Regions from separate parts of the Homo sapiens genome. Here all the other regions are linked to region 3. Evidence: promoter capture Hi-C in 16 types of primary human blood cells and fetal thymus (Javierre and others, 2016). All regions are on one chromosome and are shown on one strand. The core of a region is centred on a gene start or on the middle of the fragment in contact, and the rest is flanking DNA. Distances in the headings are between cores, read along the strand shown. Region 1 holds the start of OR8U1 (olfactory receptor family 8 subfamily U member 1). Region 2 holds the start of OR5I1 (olfactory receptor family 5 subfamily I member 1). Region 3 holds the start of OR8K5 (olfactory receptor family 8 subfamily K member 5). Region 4 holds the start of OR8K1 (olfactory receptor family 8 subfamily K member 1). Region 5 holds the start of OR10AG1 (olfactory receptor family 10 subfamily AG member 1). Region 6 holds the start of OR8K3 (olfactory receptor family 8 subfamily K member 3 (gene/pseudogene)).

The links. Contacts are between HindIII fragments. The CHiCAGO score rates a contact against its expected background, and 5 or more counts as called.
Region 1: the fragment with the promoter of OR8U1 here is called in contact with the fragment with the promoter of OR8K5 in region 3 in 8 of 17 cell types (naive B cells, neutrophils, total B cells and 5 more); the score reaches 7.2 in naive B cells.
Region 2: a contact is called between the fragment with the promoter of OR5I1 here and the fragment with the promoter of OR8K5 in region 3, in 10 of 17 cell types (total CD8 T cells, neutrophils, megakaryocytes and 7 more). The highest score is 13.1, in total CD8 T cells.
Region 4: a contact is called between the fragment with the promoter of OR8K1 here and the fragment with the promoter of OR8K5 in region 3, in 8 of 17 cell types (neutrophils, non-activated CD4 T cells, naive CD8 T cells and 5 more). The highest score is 11.7, in neutrophils.
Region 5: a contact is called between the fragment with the promoter of OR10AG1 here and the fragment with the promoter of OR8K5 in region 3, in 10 of 17 cell types (neutrophils, erythroblasts, naive CD8 T cells and 7 more). The highest score is 10.0, in neutrophils.
Region 6: the fragment with the promoter of OR8K3 here is called in contact with the fragment with the promoter of OR8K5 in region 3 in 12 of 17 cell types (neutrophils, fetal thymus, non-activated CD4 T cells and 9 more); the score reaches 10.8 in neutrophils.

The regions. Positions count from the first base shown.
Region 1 is chr11:56,374,371-56,377,070 of GRCh38, forward strand. OR8U1 (olfactory receptor family 8 subfamily U member 1) reads left to right here and starts at 1,254. Exons shown (of 1, transcript NM_001005204.1): 1 at 1,254-2,183. The coding sequence starts at 1,254. The coding sequence ends at 2,183. The HindIII fragment of the contact is 6,958 bases long and covers 1-2,700 here.
Region 2 is chr11:55,934,964-55,937,663 of GRCh38, forward strand. OR5I1 (olfactory receptor family 5 subfamily I member 1) reads right to left here and starts at 1,437. Exons shown (of 1, transcript NM_006637.1): 1 at 493-1,437. The coding sequence starts at 1,437. The coding sequence ends at 493. The HindIII fragment of the contact is 3,136 bases long and covers 1-2,006 here.
Region 3 is chr11:56,159,014-56,161,713 of GRCh38, forward strand. It overlaps OR8K5 (olfactory receptor family 8 subfamily K member 5), which reads right to left and starts at 1,304. Exons shown (of 1, transcript NM_001004058.2): 1 at 381-1,304. The coding sequence starts at 1,304. The coding sequence ends at 381. The HindIII fragment of the contact is 6,274 bases long and covers 1-2,266 here.
Region 4 is chr11:56,344,705-56,347,404 of GRCh38, forward strand. OR8K1 (olfactory receptor family 8 subfamily K member 1) reads left to right here and starts at 1,335. Exons shown (of 1, transcript NM_001002907.1): 1 at 1,335-2,294. The coding sequence starts at 1,335. The coding sequence ends at 2,294. The HindIII fragment of the contact is 5,993 bases long and covers 1-2,585 here.
Region 5 is chr11:55,968,605-55,971,304 of GRCh38, forward strand. It overlaps OR10AG1 (olfactory receptor family 10 subfamily AG member 1), which reads right to left and starts at 1,341. Exons shown (of 2, transcript NM_001005491.2): 1 at 1,288-1,341. The coding sequence starts at 1,303. The HindIII fragment of the contact is 3,009 bases long and covers 1-2,335 here.
Region 6 is chr11:56,313,813-56,316,512 of GRCh38, forward strand. It overlaps OR8K3 (olfactory receptor family 8 subfamily K member 3 (gene/pseudogene)), which reads left to right and starts at 1,332. Exons shown (of 3, transcript NM_001005202.2): 1 at 1,332-1,355; 2 at 2,188-2,245. The HindIII fragment of the contact is 10,208 bases long and covers 1-2,700 here.

The DNA.
Region 1 (2,700 bases), core at 4-2,503, 220 kb after region 3:
TATGTAATACAAGCGGATGTCAGGGAAGCAAAAGTATTATTCTCAATATATCTATTAGTTCCATGCCATCTTATAACAAGTATTTATTTCTATAGTTTGTCATAAAAAAGTTTGAGTCTGAAAGTTAGTCTTCTTGAGAAGGGTTTGGTCTGAGCAGTGCAAAGACCAAAAATTCTCTTTTTACTTACCTCCCTTTTCTCTTTTCTTTTTCCTATTTTAACTCAAAATTGACGTTCAGTTTTTAACATGCAATTAGAGATTTGGAATTTATGGGTTCCTATGTCCTTATCCATCAATTTCCATGTTGCTATAATTAGACATTAATGTTCCATCTGTATTAGGGTTTTAGGATATCTAGTATATACTTACATATTGCATATCTAATATGTATCTTATACATATAATAAATATAATTTATTTAGAATAAAATTAAGGTAAATAAGTATTTTTTGAAAGTTACTACTTACCACATTATGTTGCTCAATAAATATGTTTATTAATACAAAACACAAATAACTGAAATGGATTCTTTGATTAATTGAGCAGAAGTAAATACTCAAGAGCTATTAGTAAACTCTGAAGAACAGTGAAGAAACACAGGCTCTTATTTTATTTATATATTTATTTGCATAGTAATTTTCAAAGCGTGAAATTTATAAGTTTTTAAGGAAAGCTCTATTTTCCATTACTAGATATAATGGTGGGAGAGAGAAGAAAGAGGAGTTGAGAGACATGATATTTGATACTATTTGGGTATTCAATAATTCAATTTTAAAATTATCCAAAATGAATAAGAAAATGATGATACACAACATTAAATAGAGTAGGAAAACAAAAATTAATGCAAAAAATGTAATTAAATCAGTTTTTTAATAAAAGATAAAAAAGCAGACATAAACTGAATGTAAAGAAACATAAACTTCCAAATCTCTTAGAAAGCAAATATCAATTTTACTCTAATTTACAGGATAAGATTATGTGAGGATTCATTCCCTACATTCATGTAAGTTCATGCTTTAGATATAAAGATGTTTATACGGTGTTATATTCTTTTTGCTCTCCATCACATTTCCAGAATTCCAGTATGCTAACAATCATTATATTAGTTAAATAAATTAATAAATAAATCTAATTAATTAAACTCTTTACAATACAATAAATATAAAAACACCACATATAGGATTTACAGTATTAAAATATGACTTAGACTTAACTCTTTTCTCTACTTCCACATTTAGATGGCCAGAAAAGATATGGCTCACATCAATTGCACCCAGGCGACAGAGTTTATTCTTGTGGGCCTCACAGACCATCAGGAGTTGAAGATGCCCCTCTTTGTGCTATTCTTATCCATCTACCTCTTCACAGTGGTAGGCAACTTGGGTTTGATCCTACTCATTAGAGCGGATACAAGTCTCAACACACCAATGTACTTCTTTCTTAGCAACCTAGCTTTTGTGGATTTCTGTTACTCTTCTGTCATTACACCCAAAATGCTTGGGAATTTCTTGTACAAACAAAATGTTATATCCTTTGATGCATGTGCTACTCAACTGGGCTGCTTTCTCACCTTCATGATATCAGAATCCTTGCTACTGGCTTCCATGGCCTATGACCGATATGTGGCCATTTGTAACCCTCTATTGTATATGGTTGTAATGACTCCAGGAATCTGCATTCAACTTGTAGCAGTTCCTTATAGCTATAGCTTCCTAATGGCACTATTTCACACCATCCTCACCTTCCGCCTCTCCTATTGCCACTCCAACATTGTCAACCATTTCTATTGTGATGACATGCCTCTCCTCAGGCTAACTTGCTCAGACACTCGCTTCAAACAGCTCTGGATCTTTGCCTGTGCTGGTATCATGTTCATTTCCTCCCTTCTGATTGTCTTTGTCTCCTACATGTTCATCATTTCTGCCATCCTGAGGATGCATTCAGCTGAGGGAAGACAGAAGGCTTTCTCGACGTGTGGCTCTCACATGCTGGCAGTCACCATATTCTATGGGACCCTCATTTTTATGTACTTACAGCCTAGCTCTAGCCATGCCCTGGACACAGACAAGATGGCCTCTGTCTTCTACACAGTGATCATTCCCATGTTGAATCCCTTAATCTATAGCCTCCAGAATAAGGAGGTGAAAGAAGCTCTGAAGAAAATCATTATCAATAAAAACTAGAGTTTTGTGTTTATAAAATTAAGAAAGTAACTTGAGTAAGGAAAAATGGACTTCTTTCATGGTATGATTTTTTTCCCAGTATAAGTTATCAGGATCCTTGTTTCTCAATATGTGATGTATACATATATTTTCGCTGTGTAATACAATTTTCTAGAGAATTTCTCTTAGAACGTTAGGTATAAAAGTAACTATAAGAATTTACAACACTTCTCTTATTTTTCAAGTGGAAAATATATTAAAATTATTAATTTTCTTGCATAATATTTTATACCAATTTTCCTATTTCTCAAATGAAGAATGCATAAAAAGTCATCATCAAGATATATAATTAGTTATGTGCAGAGCACAGACAAAAGTTAACTCCTCTCCCCGTCCATCCCCAGTTCAGGATTCTGAAGCTGTATTTACAATATCCCACGTGAAAAATAAAGACACATAGTCTAAACATTTTCTTTCTCAATTCCTAATTTTTTGAAAAAATACATGACAATATAAAAATGTCCTATATTTATGCATT
Region 2 (2,700 bases), core at 187-2,686, 220 kb before region 3:
AATATTCATCCCATTTTACAGATAAATGAGGCATAGAAAAATTAAGCAACTCATTCAATATGCCACTCACTAGCCAAGTATAGATCTGGCATATAAATCAAAGCAATCTGACTTATTTTCTTATCCAGTTATCCAGTAATCTACACTTATAACTGAGATATTCTACAGATAGATACGCACATGTACATGCATGCATACTTTTCTGAAATATTTACTATATCCCTTAAGATGGCTTGATGAAATTGATTTTAGCATAAATCTCAAGCTAGTAATAACTGAAAAGTAGTATAACTAGCATTTAGCAGGAACTTTGAAACTTTTAAATGATTTTAAAAATATTTTAGGACTATGAAATTCATTTGGCTGCATTAAACAAAGTGCTTGATAAAATCCCTAGTGTGAGAGGTTGTGTGTGTGTACAGGTAAGGTTGTTGTAAGTTCCCAATTACAGTATGTGATTGAGAAATTAGATGTATCTTGAGATGCTTTATCTCATGAAGAATCTACCTTTGATCTTAGAACTTTCTCAGCTGCATCCTTTACATCTTTATTTCTCAAACTATAAATCAACGGATTCAGCACTGGAATGAAAATGGTGTAGAACACTGAGATAATTTTATCAGTGTTTGGAGAATACAGGTAGCTGGGCCGTGAGTAAATAAAGAGGAGAGTCCCTTGGTAGATCGTCACTGAAGTCAGGTGAGAGGCGCATGTAGAAAAGGTCTTCTTCCTCCCACTGAAAGAGCGGATCTTTAAGACTGAGAGAAGAATGAAAAAGTAGGAGATGATGATGATGATAAAACAAATGATTTCCACTGAGCTGCCGTATGTGGAGAGGAGCCACTCATTAATTGTTGTGTCAGTGCAGGATAGTTTAAGCAGGGGAGGGAGGTCACAGAAAAAATGATTAATAACATTTTTGTCACAATATTTCAGAATAAAGGCAAAGGATGTGTGAACCAGGGAACTCATGTTGCCTCCAAGGTATGACAAGACAATCAACCGCATACAGATGCCCCTAGACATCACAACTGTGTACAATAAAGGGTTACAGATGGCGACATAGCGATCATAGGCCATGGCGGCCAGGATGAAGGATTCTGTATCTGCAAAAGTACAGAAAAAATAAAACTGCAGGGCACACCCATAATAGGAAATAGATTTGTTCTCCGAGAGGAAATTGACCAGCATTTTGGGAACAATGTCTGAGAAATAGCAAAGGTCTACAAATGATAGGTTGCTAAGGAAAAAATACATGGGGGTTTGAAGGTGAGGATCAATCCTGATCAACAGCATCAATCCAATGTTCCCTATCAGAATTATAGCATACAATGTCAGAAACATGAGGAACAGGACAATCTGCAGTTCAGGGCGAGTTGGAAAACCTAATAGAATAAACTCAGTGACCAACGTGTAGTTTCTATCTGTAAATTCCATCTTCTGTGTTGTTTTCCTTTTATGAGAATTTCTAATACCCTACAATGCTATAATGATGAAAAAAGAAAAATAATTAGATGTAATTATAAAGTTATTTTATTGTTTAAAAATAAATAAATGGCAATAAGATAAAGAAAGCAAGCTCAAACTTTTTTGAACTATAAACTCTGAGAAATATATTTCAGAATTTAGTAATATCATATTTCATGGTTGCAGGTTATATTTTATTTGATTACTATTTCTTCCATTGAACAGTTGACTTCCTATGTGCATGGATCATGTCTGATTTGGCTTACCATTTTGCACCCAAAATATTAAACAATTACTGGCCCAGAGTATTAAAAAAGTAATAAATTAATGAACAGACTGATGATCACATTAAGTAAAGAAAATATGTATATTATTAAAAATGGACTGACTTATAGAGTGTTCCTTTGAATAAGAATTTTAGAACATCTGCTTCTTGTTTTCAGGATTTGATAGATACCGGTATGCTGTGTCTCTTGACTGAGTAAATAGAGTGGTGTGATGAAATATGCCGGCTAATTTTTTTTTTACTGTAAAGCAGAAGCTTTAGCGAAATAAAAACAAATGTCAGTAAATACCAGCTCTGAGGATATTTTTGACAGAAAAGAGCTTAGTGTAATTCCATAAACCCTGTTCACATACTAAACTAAGCTGATAAAATTAGTTAACTACTTGTTTCAATACTTCTGGCATTTATCGAACTCCTTGGCTTCCTGGAAATGCTCATTAAACATTAGTGGACTGACCAAGTACAGTCAGCAAAACATTTAGTTATATGTTAACTTGCAATTAAATAACATTACTATATATGGCATCATCACTGATTAAATTTTATAAGTAAAGAACAATTGTTGCATTTATTGTTATGGTAGTATAATACAAAGTGTTGAGTCAGAAAAATCTGTTAAACACTGCTTCTGAGGTCTCAAAATACTTACAGAATTATAAAAATTTTTAACTTGACTTTGAAGTACAAATAATTTGATTTTGACCATGAAGGATAGACTTGGAAATACGTAAAAAACAAAACAACAACAAAAAAAAGCAAGCAAAGCATCAATCTCTAAAGTTCATGTTGAGAGGGCCAAGATGGGAATTAAAAATATTTGAGTCACTGCCTCATTTACATAATAGATATTATGACAATGACAGTGCTAAAGACAATTTATTTATCTCATGTAAGCAATAAAACTACCCAATGACATAAACACTGAGAAGCCTATTGATAATCAGAAG
Region 3 (2,700 bases), core at 54-2,553:
TGGAAAACCAAATATCATATGTTCTCACTTATAAGTGGGAGCTAAACTATGAGGATACAAATAGGTAAGAATGACATAATGTATTTTGGGGACACAGGGAAAAGTGTGCAGTGTGGGCGAGGGATAAAAGGCTACACATTGAGTACAGTGTACACTGCTCAGGTGATGAGTGCACCAAAACCTCAGAAATTACCCCAATGAACTTATTCACATAACCAGAAACCTCCTACTTCCCAAAAATTATTGAAATAAAAAACAATTAAAAAAATTTGAAAATTGGAAAATTTATATACACATGAAAAATTATCAAGTGACATTAATCTATATTATATATTTATTATAACAATATTACAAATTGATTATTAAACACAAAGTTGACATCAATTCTCAAAGAGCTTATAGAAGGCATTTTTCACCTCTTCGTTTCTTAAGCTGTAAATCAAAGGGTTAAGCATGGGGATTACTAAAGTGTAAAACACAGAAGCCATTTTATCAGTATCAAAGAAGTGAGTGGAATTGGGCTGCATGTACATGAAGAGTAGAGACCCATAGAACACAACCACCACTGTCAAATGGGAACCACATGTGGAGAAAGCCTTTTTCCTGCCCTCTGCAGAATGCATTTGACATATAGCTAACAAAATCAACATGTAGGACACTAAGACTATCAGAAAGGAGGAGATCAAATTAAATACAGAAAATAGTATGCTCAACAATTCTATTTCCTGTGCATTTGAGCAAAGCATAGGTAGCAAAGGAACATCATCACAGTAAAAATGACTGATGACATTAGAGCCACAGAAGGTCAATGTAAAAATCTTAATAGTGAACATCAGAGCCTGAAATGTGCTGTAGAGATATTGAATGCCCACCAGTACATGACACAGTCGCTGAGACATAATAACATAATAGAGCAGAGGGTTACAAATGGCCACATAGCGGTCATAGGCCATGGCTGACAGGATGAAAAATTCACTGATAATGAACATAAGGAAGAATGCCAGCTGTGCAGCACATGCATAATAGGAAATAGTATTTCGATCCACAACAAAATTTGCCAGCACCTTGGGACAAATGACAGTAGAATTACCAAGATCAACAAAAGCCAAATGTCTGATAGAAAAGTACATAGGTGTATGTAAGTGGGAGTCCAGTTTGGTCAAAATGATCATAGTTAGGTTGCCCACCACTGTGATTAGGTAGATGACGAGGAAGACTCCAAAAAGGGGAATCTGCAGCTCAGGCCGCCTTGTGAGTTCCATCAGAATGAATTCAGTTAGCACTGTTAGATTGTGTTGGCCCATTTAGTCCAGTTATCTCTTCTAGGAAGAAACAGTTGGGTTATTAGCTGTTCCATGTAGTGCTATTTAAACAAATTATAATATTTGTAGACAGAATAGATTGTTATTCACAATAGATAATAGAAACATTATTTCTACATTTGATTCAGAAATGAAATATAAAGCAAAATTTTCTACTTTCCTAAAAGAGGAATTCATGTAAAATACATGCACTGAAACAACATAGATTAAATAGTTTCATCAATATTTGAAGTATATCGGTTAATAACACAGCCATATAGGTATTATTACAAAAAGATTATGCTCTTTTCATCTGCACAATGGTATCATGATTTTCTTTTGTTCACTTCCACTTTTGTTGTAAAACTTTTCTGTAATTTTGATATTCTCAAAGACAGAGGTAGAGATGGCAATAAGATAATGAAGGTTAAGATTTGGGGTCCCTCATTTGCACTTCCAGGGTCTTGTGTGGGGACTTACGAATGCACGCAAAAATGATATATCTTTGTAAAATTTCAAATGTAAGATATAATAATCATGATCAATTAAGGCTGCTTTCTGTTTTCATTCCAACTTCTAGTATATCACACTTCAACTAATATCATAGTGACTTGACATTTCTGCAAGCATTGTGGGATCTAGCTAAAGAAGGATTGAGTTAATAATAGTTTATTTGATGTTCAATGGATATGTTTATATCATTCAGACACTATGATATTTATCACTGAATAATACTACCTATTCTGACTTAAGAATGTCTTCTAAGGATACTCTTGCCACCTGTATGCTGAGATGCATTTGGCATTTGATTAATTAACATACTATATTAATAAATTTTATATAGTTTGTGGCCATGGGTTTGTTTACTAATTACAATTTAAAGCTAATTTTCTATTCTAAATAAATATTCCCATTTATCTTTCAACTTGTATGTGTAATTTTATCTAAAAAGTCAAATTCTTCTAAGCTTCAAGACACATAATCTGGATCCACTTCTGCAAAAACATGATTTAAATCAATATTCAGTGATGACTATTTAATTATATGTACTTTATTTTCTGTAATAAAACACTGTGAAGATGGTAGGTTCTATAAATCATTTAAATAATTTGAGAATTTAGGACATCATATATTAGTGAATGACTTTTTTTCTGGAATTGTACAGTGGAGTATTCATGGAGATATAATACTGTAATTAAAACTATTTCAATGAAAAGTACTTCTCCCTTTATTTAAAAAATACACGGGAAGTCAATAAAAGAAAGTGGAACGTCCCTGATACAGATAGTGAAGATGTCTTAGCCTATTCCACTTAAATTCCCCTCTCCTTCAGTTTCCACTCATTGAAAATCTGGAACTCTGTGAGAGTGACTTTCAATTGGAATAGTAACGGAATTTT
Region 4 (2,700 bases), core at 85-2,584, 190 kb after region 3:
TAGAAAGCAAAGCAAATTCTCCATTGAGGTAAGCGGAAACATTGGTCTTAGAAAATTTCTAAGGGTACATCCTTAAAGCAGGTTGTCACCAAAAATCTGGAAGGGTCCCATTCTCTGCAAAACTGTTGCCTCCCTTGCAATATACTGTTCTGTCATCAATAGGACAGATGTGCAGACAGACCTGTTATACAGTCTCCAATACTCGAGGCTGGTCATTATTTATGCCACCTTAGCTTTCAAATTACTTCATGCTTCAGTCATCTATTTTAACAAAGATCTTTATCATTATTTACCTTGTGTCTTTCCTGTCTCATTCTCACTTCCTAACAATGAAGGGTATCCCTAATGGAGAAGTGGTGTGTTAGAGTGTTTATGAGAACATATTCTGAAGGCAGAATGGCTTTACTTGAATCCTTACACTACAACTTATAATGTGAAAGATCTTTGTTAAATTATCCAACTCTTTGTGCCTCAGTTTCTTTTTCTTTTAAATGGGGATGATATTACTGCCTACTTCCTAAAGTTATTGTGTAGATCATATGAGTTAATATGTGTAAAGCACTTGCAAAATTGCCTAGCATGCTATGGATTTGCTTAGGTTCTTGATATTCATTTGTGTTTCTCTATCCACTGAGCCCTTTTTTATGATTCTCTCTTAAATGTTCATGAATTGTAAGAACAGCCAGATTTTTTTTTTCCTGCAGAAGGATGTATAATTGGGGGATTATACATCCCCCCAATTGCTCACTAGAAGCAGCAATTCAATAGGCAAAAAGTTCAAATGCAGATTAAGATATTATTAACAAAATTCTCAAATTATGGCATAAAATTTTGTTTTTGGTAAACAAGTTGAATTTATAGACAGAAGTATTGACATGTATATAATGATCAGAGATTTCCTACTGCCCTATTCATTACTCCATCTATAGTTTTGAAAATCTTGTCTTGCTTCTTTCAATGATCAGCAAAAATGTAAAGTTTAATGTATAGATGTTTGTTTTACAAATTACCTGAAAATTGTGGTAAGCAGAAACAAAAGTGGTAGCTATTTTTACATAATTAAAATGACTCTGGGTCCAAAAAGTAGGTCATAGTAGCTACATCAAAACAACAACTTCAAAATATCTTGCCCCTTTTAATTATACTTTACCACAGTTTTAATGAATGTGACTGTAGCTTTGTGTGGTTTTGACCTGATGGGAAGAGGAGACTCTATTTAGAATTTGAAATAAAGGAAATACCTCTATTGCTCATACATCAAATTGTTAATTTTCTTAGAAGATAATGTTTCAAATATAATAAATATTGATTTTCTAGTTTGCACAGTTACCAAGATGAATCATGTGGTAAAACACAATCACACGGCAGTGACCAAGGTGACTGAATTTATTCTCATGGGGATTACAGACAACCCTGGGCTGCAGGCTCCACTGTTTGGACTCTTCCTCATCATATATCTGGTCACAGTGATAGGCAATCTGGGCATGGTTATCTTGACCTACTTGGACTCCAAGCTACACACCCCCATGTACTTTTTCCTTAGACATTTGTCAATCACTGATCTTGGTTACTCCACTGTCATTGCCCCGAAGATGTTAGTAAACTTCATAGTGCACAAAAACACAATTTCTTACAATTGGTATGCCACTCAGCTAGCATTCTTTGAGATTTTCATCATCTCTGAGCTCTTTATTCTATCAGCAATGGCCTATGATCGCTACGTAGCCATCTGTAAACCTCTTCTGTACGTGATCATCATGGCAGAGAAAGTACTTTGGGTGCTGGTAATTGTTCCCTATCTCTATAGCACGTTTGTGTCACTATTTCTCACAATTAAGTTATTTAAACTGTCCTTCTGTGGCTCAAACATAATCAGCTATTTTTACTGTGACTGTATCCCTCTGATGTCCATACTCTGTTCTGACACAAATGAATTAGAATTAATAATTTTGATCTTCTCAGGCTGTAATTTGCTCTTCTCCCTCTCAATTGTTCTCATATCCTACATGTTTATTCTAGTGGCCATTCTCAGAATGAACTCAAGGAAAGGGAGGTACAAAGCCTTCTCCACCTGTAGCTCTCATCTGACAGTGGTGATCATGTTCTATGGGACATTGTTATTTATTTACTTGCAACCCAAGTCCAGTCATACTTTGGCTATTGATAAAATGGCCTCAGTGTTTTATACCCTGTTGATTCCTATGCTGAATCCGTTGATCTACAGCCTAAGGAACAAAGAAGTAAAAGATGCTCTAAAGAGAACTTTAACCAATCGATTCAAAATTCCCATTTAATATCTTAATACTCAGTTGCATAGTTGGGTACAATAATCTGTTTAGTACTCTGTCAAACCAATTATAACATAAAAAAAGTAGAAATACTCTATCTGCTTAGATTTTCCTCTTTTTCTGGACAAAACATGTCCTCTTAGAGCAACCTGTACTCTTTGCCACCTCAATGGAATAAATAAATACTATATTCAGGTAATATATGTCCTAAGCAATTTTCGAAATCATACTGGAACCGCTACTATTTATAAATAAGGCAAATTATGTCAAACTTAGAGTTGCAGAGTTAAAATGAAAAGCTTATATAGTTCAAACAGAGTAAAAATAACCGGAAAATTAGTAATAGATATTTCCCAGCAGGCACTAGGTATTAAATGTAAATAAGATTGAACCATAGAGAACATGTAGGCTA
Region 5 (2,700 bases), core at 91-2,590, 190 kb before region 3:
TAAGCTCTTAAGTCATTTTCACCAGTACTTGCTCTGTTTCTAGATAATAAACTGATTTAGCATTAAAATCAATTTAAGAAATGAAACCTCAATATATTTTATTATACTGGGATATAATGCAACCAGAGGCATTGAGAAGCATGCATTGTTGTTTAGAAAATATTATGGAGGAATAACATCTTATTATTTCACACTTAAGAGTAGAGTTATAGTGTAGGCTTTTACTATTTCATCTGAGAATATCATTTTTCTTTGTATTGGTAGTCATATTCCAGTTTTTTTAATTCAAAATGTTGCCCTTGAATATTACGATTAATTCATACTCAAAATGAATTTTAAACTTTTCCTTTTATGCACCAGTGAGAATCAATTATCTTAAACAATTTCTTGGTTACTGAGAGACTAAATACATGCATTATTGTTGCTCTACTTCATGTCTCTCTCCTATTATTTATGCTAAATATAAAAACACTAATACCAGTAGGCAGTTTATTGACTTCCCCTGTTATTGCCCTGAATACAGTGAATGCTAAATAGTAATTAAATTATAACTTAATCAAGATGTAGAAATTCATCACAATTTTTTTTACATTTCTTTTTTTTATCTAAGTGAATTTCTCCATTGTCATATAACCAAATACAGTTCCTTTCAACCAAATACAATTCCTTCTCTCTATTTTCCCTTCATCCTGTTGCCTTATTAAAGTAAAATTCTTTGATTAAACCCAGCTAACATTTACTCTGGCCATCTAAGTGGCCAGAGCATATAAATGGGACCAAAAAATTAAACAAAACAAAACAAAAACACACTGTCTTGCTTCACTTCATGTCAATGTCATCCAATATGAGGAAATCACTGCTTGTCAATTCCCATTACACTTGCTTAACGTTTGTTCTCCAACTTTCTAAACAAATTCTTTTTTTCTGTGTCTTCAAATCTGCTGCACCTATACCTATTTTAGCCCGGTCAGCCAATGCATTTGACTTAATACGTTGATAAATGAAAGTGATCAGACAAATACTATCTCATATTTATACATTTCTATTAGTACTAGTTTTCAAAATTGCCTTAAATGACTTTTCATCACTAATGCAATTTTACCATTATTGGACATCTAATTTTATTTAACTTTGTAGTGAAGAGATACATGATTTAAATGTTAAATAATTAATTTTCAGATAAAGGTCTCAAAATTTCATGCTTTTCTGTTTTATTAGTTGCATTTCTATCCACAAACTTGTAACTATTCTTAAATAAAATAGTCTGTCAACCCAATTATGGCTTACCTTTAGGGATTTGCATGAAGCTGTCTGTACAGACTTTTTAAGCTCTTCCTTTTCTCGGGAACTGTAATTTTGCAATACGCTTGCTTGTTTCAAACAGCAACAGCTCTTATATAGGAATAGTCAGACTCAACCTGGGATGTGTCTTCTCTTGAGTATCAGTTTAATTTCTAGAAGGCTGCTTCTGTTTGTCAATCATTCTGATTCATTTTTCAAAACTACTTTAAGTAAACTTATCCTCCTCTTCATCTCCTCATGAGGGGAGTTAATTAAATACCATTTAGTTGTCTAGTATTACTTTCAGGAAAAAGTTAAAAATTTTCCAACTGTGTATTTGAGGCCCCTAATACTTAGTGTGGATTTGTCTGCCTTACTTCTATTCCAATAATTTATCCAGATCCAAATTAACTAGACCTTTAAAAAATATATCATGTGTTTAATCACACGAACATGATATGCTTGATGTCTTCGACATATTGAACGGTGAGATTCTTTTTCAGATGTGGAACCCTCTGTTCCTAGGTTAACTTTTTTTGTGGATATTAAAACATGTTAATTCTGCTGAGAAAATCTATCTATACATTTATTTCATTCTGTGTTGTCTATAAGGCACCAGGGAAATGTATCCAGCTGATTGAAAATGTAATATACCACTCCAAGACGTCCCACTAGACGCAGTCAAGAGGAACATCGCCCACGAGGGACCAGGACATCAGGAAGATTGGTGCACTCCTAGCAAATCTTCAGAAGGAAAGGAATTCTGCATGGGGGTACCACACACAGGAAGCATTCCTGGCCCCCAGTGACTCCTGCAAAAGCATGAGTTGAATGGGCAAGGAGCAACCCTCTCTTTCCATGAGCCTCCGAATCCCAGCAGGAGAAAACCCCTGGACCACAAGTAACACTTGAACTGGCAGGGAGAGATGCTTAGACAAGTGGTAGGGGCAGAACTCCAGCCTGTGTGGAATCCAGAGGGTTTAGTGTGAAAGTGTCTGTAGTGGAGCATGGCCAGGGATGCCCATCCCCCCAGGCTTGACCTGCTCCCGTAGGAAGCTTTAGCCCTATGGGAACTATGGGACCTGAATTCTGCACGGCAGTCTCACCCACTACATGAGGCTATTCTAACTTCAGCACCACTCAGTTTGCTGGCCTCTCCTGGGTCCCAGCTTGGCCCCCAGCCAGGTACCTCCTGGGGGCCACATCATAGCTCCTGTGCTGGTGGACCCCCGGCTGACCAGCAGACTGATCCAGCAGAGTAGCCTGTGCAGACACAGGCCAGCCCACCAGCACCCTCCCTGCACTGCAGCCTCTCGGGCCACTTTGCCTGCACTCACTCACCCATAGCCACCCCCTATTTATGTCTCTCTCCTATTATTTATGCTAATTATAAAAACACTAATACCAGCATCCCTTTGC
Region 6 (2,700 bases), core at 82-2,581, 150 kb after region 3:
ACATCTTTTATTAATAAGAAAAACTGTAATAATAATATACGGAAAACTGTAATAGCCCAAACTAGCCAGAACTACTAATGGCCCACATTCTTCAGGAATAAAGGTTTGGGCCACTTCACAAGGAAAAAAGAACCATGGCCAACTAAGGTGCTTGCTAAAGACAAAAGGAATAGAGTATGGAAAGAAGAAGAAGACGGTTATAAATACCAGCTATAATCATGTGGCCAGTTCAGAAATGAGGACTGTAATTGTAATGAGAATTCCATCCTAATTTTATTATAAATATGTCTGTGTATTTATTAAGATGCTTTATTCCATTTTTTATTACCTTATTATATAAATATGATATATGGACTTTACATCAATATTTAAATATTGTTACTTTTACACTGTAGAATTTTACTCTGAGAAAATCAGGAGAAGAGTCAGTATCACTCAAAGAATATATGTCCTGATTGGAATAAAGGATTAGTGAGTTTTTATTTATATGCCGGATAGTTGTGTCATGTAAAGCAAAACTATGACCTTGTTATTGTCTATGTTTAGAGAGACTAAGTATGGTTTAAGTACATGCTTATGTTTGCCAAGCTGACAAGGGGTGGAGTAATGACGATTAAAGTGTTGACTTAACTAGGCTATATGATGCCCAGATAGCTGGCAAACATTATTTCTGGGTGTGCCTGTGAGGATACTCCTGGAAGAGACTACGATTGTTAGACAGAGTAACTATCATCCTCACCAATATAGGTGGGTATCAGTGCAATCAATTGAGGCCTTGAATAAAACAAAAAGACAGAGGAAGGGTGAGTTCACTCCCTGCTTAAGCTAGGACATCCTTCGCTTCCTGCCATCAGACATTGACATCCCAGATTCCAGAGCCTTCGAATTCAGACTATGATGTACACCCTTGGCTCCCCTGGCTCCCAATATTTCAAGTTTGAACTGAATCTATACCACCAGCTTTCTTGAAGTTTGCAGACAGCAAATCACAGGAATCCTCAGCCTACATAATTGCATAAAACAATTCATAATAAATCTCTATTATCTATCTATCTATCTATCTATCTATCTATCTATCTATCATCTATCTATCTATCTATCATCTCTCATCTAACTATCTCTTCTTAGTACTGTTTTTCTGGAGAACTCTGATACACTAGTGAATACAAACTGTCTTCTACAACTAATGGACAGCCTCAAACATTTTGTTATGCTCTCAAATGCTTTAGGAATTATCAATAAATTGCCTGCCATCTCCTCAGGGAGAGTCTCAAAAGATTAAAAAATGCATAAATTGTTCTCACTGTGCCATGTGAGAGACACATGGAGGAGTCAAGACAGAGGCTTCCTTACAGGTAAAAAAAAAAAAAGTAAGAATGTTTCTTGTGGTGTCATATGTTACAGATATCTATAATGCTTCAGTGACATTGGAAAACTGCCACTTTAATTTGATGACATAACCATAGTAAAGTGTGACAATTTCTGATTCATTTCTCCGGGATTTCTGTTACTCAATAATGCCTAAGCAGAAATAACGGTGCTCCATTTTTCATATGCTTTTTAAGTATTTTACATGGTTTCACAGGCTGAATGCTATAAGCATCTTTGAAACATTATCATGATATTGTTTCTAAAGTATTCATTTTACATATTTTTCTCTAATTGAGGCCAAAACTTGGAGAAAATAAAGCACAATGACAAGGAGATAAATATATTTTTAATGAAAGAATGGAGAAACTGCAACTATTTGGTCAGTCATGTTCATGTCCTTCCAAATACTTGTTATTTAGATGCTCTAGGCTCTCAGACCCCTTAACAATAATTTAACACTGAATGATTATTCAAATAAATGTGTAGATATGATTGTTTTCTCACTGCTTGGTGAGTCAAAAAGGGGGTTGCTACCTTACATTCGAATGTGAAAAGCATTATTAAAAATTATGAGGCTTTTTGGGTAATCATAGGCACAGAAAAAAAAAACATTTTAAAATAGAAGAAAATAAAATTAGGAGACTGTTAAGTACCCAGTTTTAGGGAACAATACAATTTTCAGAAAGTACTTCAATTTCCACTAAGAGTTGACAAAAGCAGATATTATTTTCTCAAAGATTGTAGCTTTAAAAAATGCAATTGATATTCAACAAAGACAGCAAAATATGAAAAAAAGCAATCTGGTTCTTTCCACAGAACTCCAAAGATGGTGAAAGGAACCTCATTTATATTTCCTTACCTAACAAGAAAACAGGTACTTATCCATGATATTATTTGCCTTTCTAAATTGCCAAACTGTACAAAACAAGCAAACAAAATACAGGATTTATGCTGCTCATCATCTTATTTACTAAAGATATTTATCTAACTTTTCCATCTACTGCCACACATTACCATATATCTAATATGAGAAAGGTGTGTTCATTGAGTCAGGGTAGGATAGGAGTAGGTCATAATTTTATTTAAAAAATTAAGTTCAAATAATATGTAATCATCTTTATATTTAATGTAACACAATTGCTTGTCTTTATTTTTTCATAGCTCACTCTGAGATTGCTGTCACTATAATTTTCATTGTAAAAACTATTTTCTTTCTTTTCTTTTTTCAAAAAACATTGGGGCTTACGATTTTTTTTAACTAATAATGATTATCTTAGGTTATCATGCCCTCCATCTCCTGCTCTACTATATTTTAAATCTGTGGGTTAT